Linked DNA regions of Homo sapiens: region 1 is linked to region 2. Evidence: promoter capture Hi-C in human tissues and cell types (Jung and others, 2019). All regions are on one chromosome and are shown on one strand. Each heading gives the region's core, a stretch centred on a gene start or on the middle of the fragment in contact. The rest is flanking DNA. Distances are from core to core; before and after follow the strand shown.

The links. The method cuts DNA at HindIII sites, captures the fragments that hold promoters and counts their contacts. A contact is called where the count stands out against the background at its distance.
Region 1: a fragment that was not itself captured here is called in contact with the fragment with the promoter of NINJ1 in region 2 in 1 of the 25 tissues and cell types used here (heart right ventricle).

The regions. Positions count from the first base shown.
Region 1 is chr9:93,427,680-93,431,687 of GRCh38, forward strand. It overlaps LOC107987097 (a long non-coding RNA gene), which reads right to left. Exons shown (of 2, transcript XR_007061670.1): 2 at 3,732-4,008. Among named protein-coding and RNA genes, the nearest start is that of FAM120A, 22 kb to the right of the region's middle. The HindIII fragment of the contact is 9,352 bases long and covers 1-4,008 here.
Region 2 is chr9:93,132,223-93,136,696 of GRCh38, forward strand. NINJ1 (ninjurin 1) reads right to left here and starts at 2,029. Exons shown (of 4, transcript NM_004148.4): 1 at 1,921-2,029. The coding sequence starts at 1,995. It overlaps LOC124902212 (a long non-coding RNA gene), which reads left to right and starts at 790. Exons shown (of 3, transcript XR_007061665.1): 1 at 790-1,371. RefSeq lists enhancers at 1,234-1,283, 2,743-3,339 and silencers at 1,574-1,823, 1,994-2,223, 2,724-2,773. The HindIII fragment of the contact is 17,238 bases long and covers 1-4,474 here.

The DNA of each region.
Region 1 (4,008 bases), core at 1,165-3,664, 300 kb after region 2:
ATTCAGCCGACAAAAGTGGCTAGTCTACTTACTATGATCTGAACATTAATACTAATGAAGATAAAGTTTTATGGGTCATGTGTCCAGGTCACTGAAATCTCTGTGCTTATCTCTACTTGATATATTTGGCTCATTTCAACTCTGAGATCATCCTGTCCATAAAGAGAGCAAGAGCTTACCCAGTCAGCATTAGGTCAGTCTTGCTTCTCATTCAACTCTGATGTTGAAATCTGGTTCTGATAAACAGAGTTAGGCTTTGTCCAGTTGTGCACAGGCCCCAGCACTGCAGTCCACATCTAATAACTAGACCACTAGCTTTGGTATCACAAGGAGGACCCTGTCTGATGTCCTTCCTATTACCACAGTTCCTCCAGGACTGGAACTGTGCTTTCAGAGAAGTGAGCCCTGACTCTGGCCCCACACTGGGCCACTGCTTTCTGCGTCCAATTCCCTGCAGGATCAGACACCACTGGGCTCCATGGACCTCCTGCTACTGCCCCCTGCTGGGTCCTTGCCTGTGCTGGCTCTGATCCTACGCAACTGTTTGCCTTCTGCGTTCTTGTACCCCCTGATTTGACCCATCCCATCATCAACCAGGTTGCCAACTGTTTTTAATCACCCTAAGTTTTAAATTGTTTTTACTGCAAGAATTTCAGTTTTATTTGGTGGTAAAAGAATTTTTTAAAGTCAATAAAGTATTAATCAGAGAAATTGGAACAATGACCGGATATTATGTTAGGTATGATAATGGTAGTGCAGTTATGCCTTTAAAAGAGTCTTTATTTAAGAGAGTCCTTAGAGCTCATACTGAAATATTTGTGGGTGAAAATTATATGATGCCTGAAATTTGCTTTAAAAACATCCAGTGTAGGAGGGGAAGGGGACACAGATAAATCCCAATTGGCCATAAGTCGATAATTACTAAGCTGGGTGACAGGTACGTGGAAATGACTTACACTAGACTCTTTACTTTTATACATTAACATTTTACTTTTACTTTTATACATTAACATTTAAAAATAAATAAGTAAAAGGATTCGTACATTGGCTAACTAGGTGCAAAAAATGAAGTTAGATAGACCATACCTACAGTAAATTCCAGATCAATTAATCAATATGAGTGACACCAGGGAAGAACCAGAGGAAAATATAGGTAAATGTTTACCTGATCTCAAGGTGAAAAATATCCCTTCAAGAATAAAAGGAAAAAAAAAAACTATAGAGGAAAAACTTAGTTGATATGATTATATAAAAATTAAGAAAGGTTCTACATTAAAAACAAAAAAAAATCCTTTTAACAGGATAGCAACAAACTGGGAAAGATAGTTAAAACATATTATATAAGGTAAGCATTATTATACTTGATGTAAAAAGAGCTTTTTTGAAATAGGAGAATAACACCTCAATATAAAAAGTGTCAAAAGACATGAATGGGAAATTTACTTAAAAATACACATATGTGGCCAAAAAGATTAAAACCTCAATCTCAGCCAGGCACAGTGGCTCATGCCTGTAATGCCCACAGTGTGGGAGGCCAAGAAGAGAGGATCACTTGAGGCCAGGGGTTCAAGAGCAGCCTGGGCAATATAGCAAGACCCCATCTGTACAGAAAAAAATTAGCCAGGCATGGTAGCTAAAAATAAAAAAATTAGCCATGCCTGCAGTCTCAGCTACCTGAGAGGCTAAGGTGGGAGGATGGCTTGAGTCCAGGAGTTTGAGGCTACAGTCAGCTATAATCATGCCACTGCACTCTAGCCTGGGCAAGAGTGAGACCCCATCTCAAAAACAAAACTAAAGTAAACTAAACAACAACAACAAAAACCCTCAATCTCAATAAAAATAAGAGCTACCATTTTCGATCCATCAGCTGTGCAAATTTTTGAAAATGAAAACACTTGGCATACGTAGAGCAGAAAACAGGCACACCCGTTCATCGTATTAGGGTGGTGACATGATGCCACCTTTCCTGGGAGGAATCTGGCAATGGGCATCAAAGGACTAAGATAAGAATAGTTAGAGTCTTTGACCTGACAATTCTAATTTGGAAATTTATCCTTAGGGAATGAGTAGACAGAAATATATTGATGCTCAGTGATGTTTGTTACAATGTTATTTATAATAATAACACACTGTAATCTCAGCACTTTGGGAGGCCAAGGAGGGGGAATTGCTTGAGCTCAGGAGTTTGAGACCAGTCTGGGCAACATGGTAGAGCTCCATCTCTACTTAAAAAAAAAAAAAAAAAATTCAACTGGGTGTGGTGGTGCACGCCTGTGGTCCCAGCTACTCTTGAGGCTGAGGTGGGAGGATTGCTTGAGACTGGAAGGCAGAGACTGCAGTGAGCCAGATCACACCACTGTATTCCAGCCTGAGTAACAGAGCAAGACCCTGTCTCAAAAAGCAACAATAATAATAAAACACTGAAAACAAATGGAAACATCCAAAATAATGATTTGGTTCATTCACAGCATATGGTACAGCTCATTCACAAGACAGAATACTATATAGCCACAACACACGCTACAACTAATGTATATTATACTCAAAATGAAAGCATGAGTGCCTTCCCATATCCTGGAATATTTGTTGAAAACATGATTTCATGGCTACTACATATTCTCTCTAGAATTCACACTTATAAACACTCATAGGTTAATACGTATCTCAAAATGTTATTGGTGGTTGCTGCTGAATAGTAGGGCTCAGCATGCTGATTCCCTTTATCATACTTTTCTGGATTTTACAAAATTTTGACAATGAGCTTATATTGCTTTAAAATCAGAAAAATAAGGCAATAATAGACTCAAAACAATTACAAAATCAGAAAAATGAATGACACTAAAGAAATTTAGACTTGGGGAAAGATGCCAAAAAGGATCTGGCATACTCTGTGGACTCCCTCATGTGATCCATGATGAATTCAAAGCACATGGGGATGGGCACATCCAGGGTCGCATAGTCAATCAGGCAACAGCCCAGCCCAGCCTCTGACTCCAGGATCTTGTCAGCGCCTGCCCCTCTCAGAGGTGTCTTTGTGGACACATGTGGTACTCAGTGGTTTGACACATGCAGGCTGATCAAGGAATGCATCTGGTAAACTGCTAGGTTAAGAACCTAACAGATCCTTGGCTGGGCATGGTGGCTCACGCCTGTAATCCCAGTACTTTCGGAGGCCGAGGTGGGCAGATCACCTGAGATCAGGAGATCAAGACCAGCCTGACCAACATGGTGAAACCCCGTCTCTACACAAAACACAAAAAATTAGCCAGGTATGGTGGCACGTGCCTGTAGTCCCAGCTACTTGGGAGGCTAAGGCAGGAGAATTGCTTCAACCCGGGAGGCGGAGGTTACAGTGAGCCAAGACCACGCCATTGCACTCCAGGCTGGGAGACAGAGCAAGACTCTATCTCAAAAAAAAAAAAAAAAAGAACCTAACAGATCCTGTACTTTCTTCTCAAAAGCTTGATGGATATCATGAGGCAAGTGAAGCACTAGAAGCAAAAGTATACTTTACTGACATCTACATACATTATTATTAGACCTGTGATGCTTTTCACACTTGCTGCATTATATATAAGCCTGCTGGTTATTTACATTTAAAAAAATCCCCCACAGTGCCGCACATAGTACTATGGATATAATGATGTCTAATAGAGCCTTTTGCTGTTGCTGTTTTTTGTGCTTGCTTTTGTTGTTGTTTTTTCTAAAAATAAAAACAAAAACAAGAAAACTGTAACTATAATATTTATCATTTTAATTGATGTGTATAGTTTTACAAAATCAAATAGTAATAGAAACAAAATAGCATCCCTTGTGCCTCCCCTCCCTATTGCTCCCTGGTCTTATACAGTCATAAGAAGTCACAAGAAACCACGTACAAATTGTTAAGCCATTTCTTCTGCCATTTACCTTCCAATTCCTAAGGAGTATGCATGTGCTGTTATTTATTTTAGACATTATCTTTTTTCTCCCTGTCTTGACAGATGTTATCTAACTCAAGTGCACTTT
Region 2 (4,474 bases), core at 779-3,278:
CTGGGCCCCCAGGCTGGGTGAGCAGAGCGGCCCTCGAAGTTTTCTACCCCTCAAGGGGAAATGTGCTCATCCTCACACTGGCTCATAGCCTTTCCACAGCTCCCTGGACACCAGACCGTGATCAGGCCTGCAAGGCCCCTCCCATCGGCCTGGCTTCCCATCCCCCCACCTCCTACCTGGCCCTCATGTGCTCTGTGGTCCAGCCTCTGAGCCTTTGCTCCCACTGTTCCCTCTGCCTAGATGCCCTTCCACACATCTCAGAGAGCCAGATCTGCTCACCCACCTTCCCTGCCCTCCAGGGCTCAGAGCCAATGTCCCCACCTCCACAGAAAGCCTTCCCTGACCACCATGCCCCGCCCCCCACGATGGGCTCCCAGCCCCCAGGGAACCCCCTGCTTTGCCCTGGCCTCTCCTGCCCTGTCTGGGCTGGGCTGCTCTCCAACCGCGGCTTGGTGGGGCGGGGCTGTGTCTCTCTCCCTCTGGTGCCCAGAGCCAAGACAGTGATCCGGGAACAAATCCAACCCAATCTCCTCTGGGCTTGAGATGCACCCATCTCAGGAGGCACAGCCTATCCTGCCGCCCGCAGAAGTGAGCAGAGACTGCTCTGAGTGGAGGGCATTGCCCGGGCAAGGTCAGGGTTGGGGGAGGAGCAGTATCCCTTCCTTTCCAAGGCGCTTCCAAGCCACTGACCTGTTTATTACCTGACTTGCTTTCCCCACTTCCCTGAAGGCAGGAGAGACCCTTTGTTCTCTCTTTATAAGACCATGTCTAAAAGGCCCAGCGAGGTGTGGCAACTTCCCAAGGACACACAGCCGGAGGAGCCCCCTGCCTATTGCTCCAAAGTGCTCACACACTGGGGCAGGGCCAGGTCGCTGGGGTCCCGCACACCGGTCAAGTCCTGCAGTGCGACAGCTCCTCTCTAACCTAGGAACAAGTGTCCATGCAGCCCCAGGGCCATCCTATCCCGTGGCTCATGGGGCCCCGCCTCCCCGAACATGTCCTGTCCCCACAGCACCGGCCTAGGACTGTTCACCAGCGAGTGGGCAGAGTGTCTTTGCCCCAGTCTGGTCCACGCCATGGAGAGGCCTGGAAAAACCCAACAGGCTGCTGTTCCCTGCCCCCATCCCTGAGGGGGTTAGAAAAGGAAAGAATGTTCAAAGTAAACAAGTCACCAGAGGGCCATGCCAGGACCTTGCAACAAACACAAGGTGCTCAGTAAGTGCTGAGTCCTGGGATGAAGAATTCTGAAGCGGGACCACTACCAGGGCCTGCCCCCTGCCCACAGCCCTCCCAGGCCGGGCAGGGCAAGTTCTGGAGGGCCGGTGGCGGCATACACTGAAGGCTGTGTGACGTTTCTATTTCTCAAGGCAGGTGAGTGGAATAGGGACCACAGCGGGCCCCAAGTTCCCCCATCAAGGCACGCATCAGATTGTGTGGTCAGCGTGGGGTGACGTAACTGTCTGCATGCAGCTGGTCTGGAGCCCGGAGGCTGTGACTCCCCTCCGCCCGCCTCCGGGCAAAGTGCGCGGAGGAGCCGGCACGGCGAGGCTGAAGTTAGAGAGGCCCGCGCGAGAGTGGGGGGGAGGTCGGGAAAGCCGGGCGCCGGCAGTCCTTAGCCCGAGGAGCTGCGCCGAGGCCCCCTCCGCCGTGCAGCCAAGCGCGGGCGCTGCTTAGTGGGGCTGGGGACGCCAGCCCGCCCTGCGCCCCCACGCCCCCTCGTCCCGCCCACTTGCCGGGGGTGGCTGGAGCTCCCGGGGGCATCGTTCTGACCCTGATGGGGCGGGAAGGACTTGGCCTAGAGCGGGACGTCCCCCAACACTCTGCAGTGCGGACGCGGCGCACACAGGTGCCCGGGGAGCCGCGGCGCCCCGAAAGGACAGGGCCTGGCAAGATCATGCAGCGGTGGGGGGAAGGTCTTACCGAGGCGTCCGGGGAGCCGGGTGTGCCCGGAGGCAGGCCGCCGTTGAGCTCGTACTCCTCGGTTCCCGAGTCCATGGTGCGGCCGCCCAGGCCGCCAGGATCCGGGCCTGAGCGCGCCCGAGCCTCAGCCGCAGGCTCCAGCTGCGCGCCCGCCCCCGGCCCGCCCCCGGCCCGCCCGGCGGCGAGCTGCTGCCCCAGACTCCGCCTCCACCCGGGGCGGGCCCGGGGCCTGGAGGCTGTACGCTGAGAGCGCGCAGTTTGGGGCGACCCCAACCCCTCGGGCCTGAGACGGTCCCGCGGGGCCCCACAAGGGAGGGGGCGCGACGCCGATGGCCCCAGAGGACCCTGCGCTGCGTCTTGCTCTGAACCTCCGTCGCGGACACTTTTAATCCACAAAATGAGGCCAAGAACGACCTTTCCCTGGCCACCAGGCAAACTGCATGAAAGCGAGCGGGCGTTGCCGCTGGCGCCCACGCTGGGTTTTTCCCAGGCGGGGTTCGCCCTGGGAACCGCAGATCGCTCCAGCACAGCGCCTGCTGCGCCCCTAGTAACAGCGTCAGAGAGTCCGGGGTTCCCCTGATTGCGGGCCACGCTGACACAGGGCTTCCCACTCCCTGACCTTAGGTTTTCCTGCCTGGGAAATGGGGGTTATGAGGGCACAGACTGCTGGAGGGGCTGGGGGAGGCACAAAGGGGATGAACGTGCGCTGACTCATGGGCCCATCTGTGCCACCTGTGGCAGGGGGTGGGCTGGGGGCAGCACAGTGCCCAGAGCCCTGGCCAGATGCTAGGCGGGCCCCCACCTGTTGTATGATTGAAGTGGTTGTTTGGTCTCTGTTTCTCCATATGTTCATTCCTCAGCACTTTGCCCATCTGGGGGCCTGGGGGTCGAGAGCATGTGGCGGCCACCCTGGGAGGCCAGGGGAGTTCATCCTGACCACAGCATAGTCAGCTTGCGGCAGTATGGCCACTCTATTTCCAGAAGGGCAGTGGAAGGAAGGCCAGCTCAGACCCCAGGCTCTGTCCAGTCAGGCTGCCACCGGGACAGGAGGTAGGAGTGAGTGGGCATGGGCAGGGCAGCAGGATTGCGCTTGCCCTGATCCTCCAAACGGGGTCATCCCATGAAGGAGGAGCTGTCGTGGGCCCACTTCACAGCAGAGAAACTGAGGCTCAGGCTGTCACTGCCCCAGCTCTGCCTCAGAGGGGATCTGCAGGACAGGGTCTGGCACGGTGGCCCACGACGGGGATGGTTGCTGTTGTCCTCGCATAATCAGGGCACTGTTGGCACACCTGAGTGTTCACCAGCAGCTGGAAATCCAGCACCATTCACACAAAAAACTCTCTCACAGTATGGGACAAATCCCTATTCTGGGGGATAGTGCCTGCCCACGAGGGCTCAATTCCTGGAGGGGCAGGAGGTGTGGGACCACAGAGAAAATACGTCACACCCAGAAAGGGCCCTGGGAGCTGCAGGGGAGCCCTGAGACCTTGGAAGGCCAAGGGCGTGTAGAGAGGCCCCGAAGTAGGAGGGCTTGGCAGGTGGAGACCCCGTCCTGAGAGTATTCTTTCCTTTGTGCCATGTGGGAGCTCCTGCAGTGTGGTTCATCATTCCCATCCTTTTTTTTTTTTTTTTTTGAGATGGAGTCTTGCTCTGTCGCCCATGCTAGAGTGTAGTGGTGCGATCTTGGCTCACTGCAAGCTCCACCTCCCGGGTTCACACCGTTCTCCTGCCTCAGCCTCCTGAGTAGCTGGGACTACAGGTGTGCGCCACCACGCCCGGCTAATTTTTGTATTTTTGGTAGAGACAGAATTTCACCATGTTGGCCAGATCACCTCCTGACCTCAGGTGATCTGCCCGCCTCAGCCTCCTAAAGTGCTAGGATTACAGGCATGAGCCACTGCGCCTGGCCCCATTCCCACCTTCTAAGAGGAAGCCGGGAGGGTCGCAGCACCAGTGACAGTTGGGACATCAGCCTCGGGGTTTGTAAACCTGCTCTGTGCTGGCCGTCTGAGACCCTCTCCCAGCCTCAGTTTCCTCAGCTCCTGGGGCTGCTGGCAGGACGTGTGGGTGTCAGGGCTCAGGCAGGCTGCAGCGCTGGAGTTCCCTCGTCTGCTCCGTCATCCTCATTTGAGTATGTAGTGTCTGTTTTCCCCACTGTGCTCAATGCTGTTTACCCAACTGTTCTCTGCTGGATCCAACCCAGGACAAGTCTTAAAGGCACAGTGTACCCCGTGTCACCTCCATCTACCTTTTTTTTTTCTTTTTTTTGAGATGGAGTCTCGTTCTATTGCTCAGGCTGGAGTGCAGTGGCGCGATTTTGGCTCACTGCAAGCTCCGCCTCCCAGGTTCAAGCGATTCTCCTGCCTCAGGCTCTCGAGTAGCTGGGACTACAGGCGCCCGCCACCACGCCTGGCTAATTTTTTGTATTTTTAGTAGAGACGGGGTTTCACCATGTTAGCCAGGATGGTCTCGATCTCCTGACCTTGTGATCTGCCTACCTCAGCCTCCCAAAGTGAAAGGATTACAGGCGTGAGCCACTGCACCGGGCCCAACC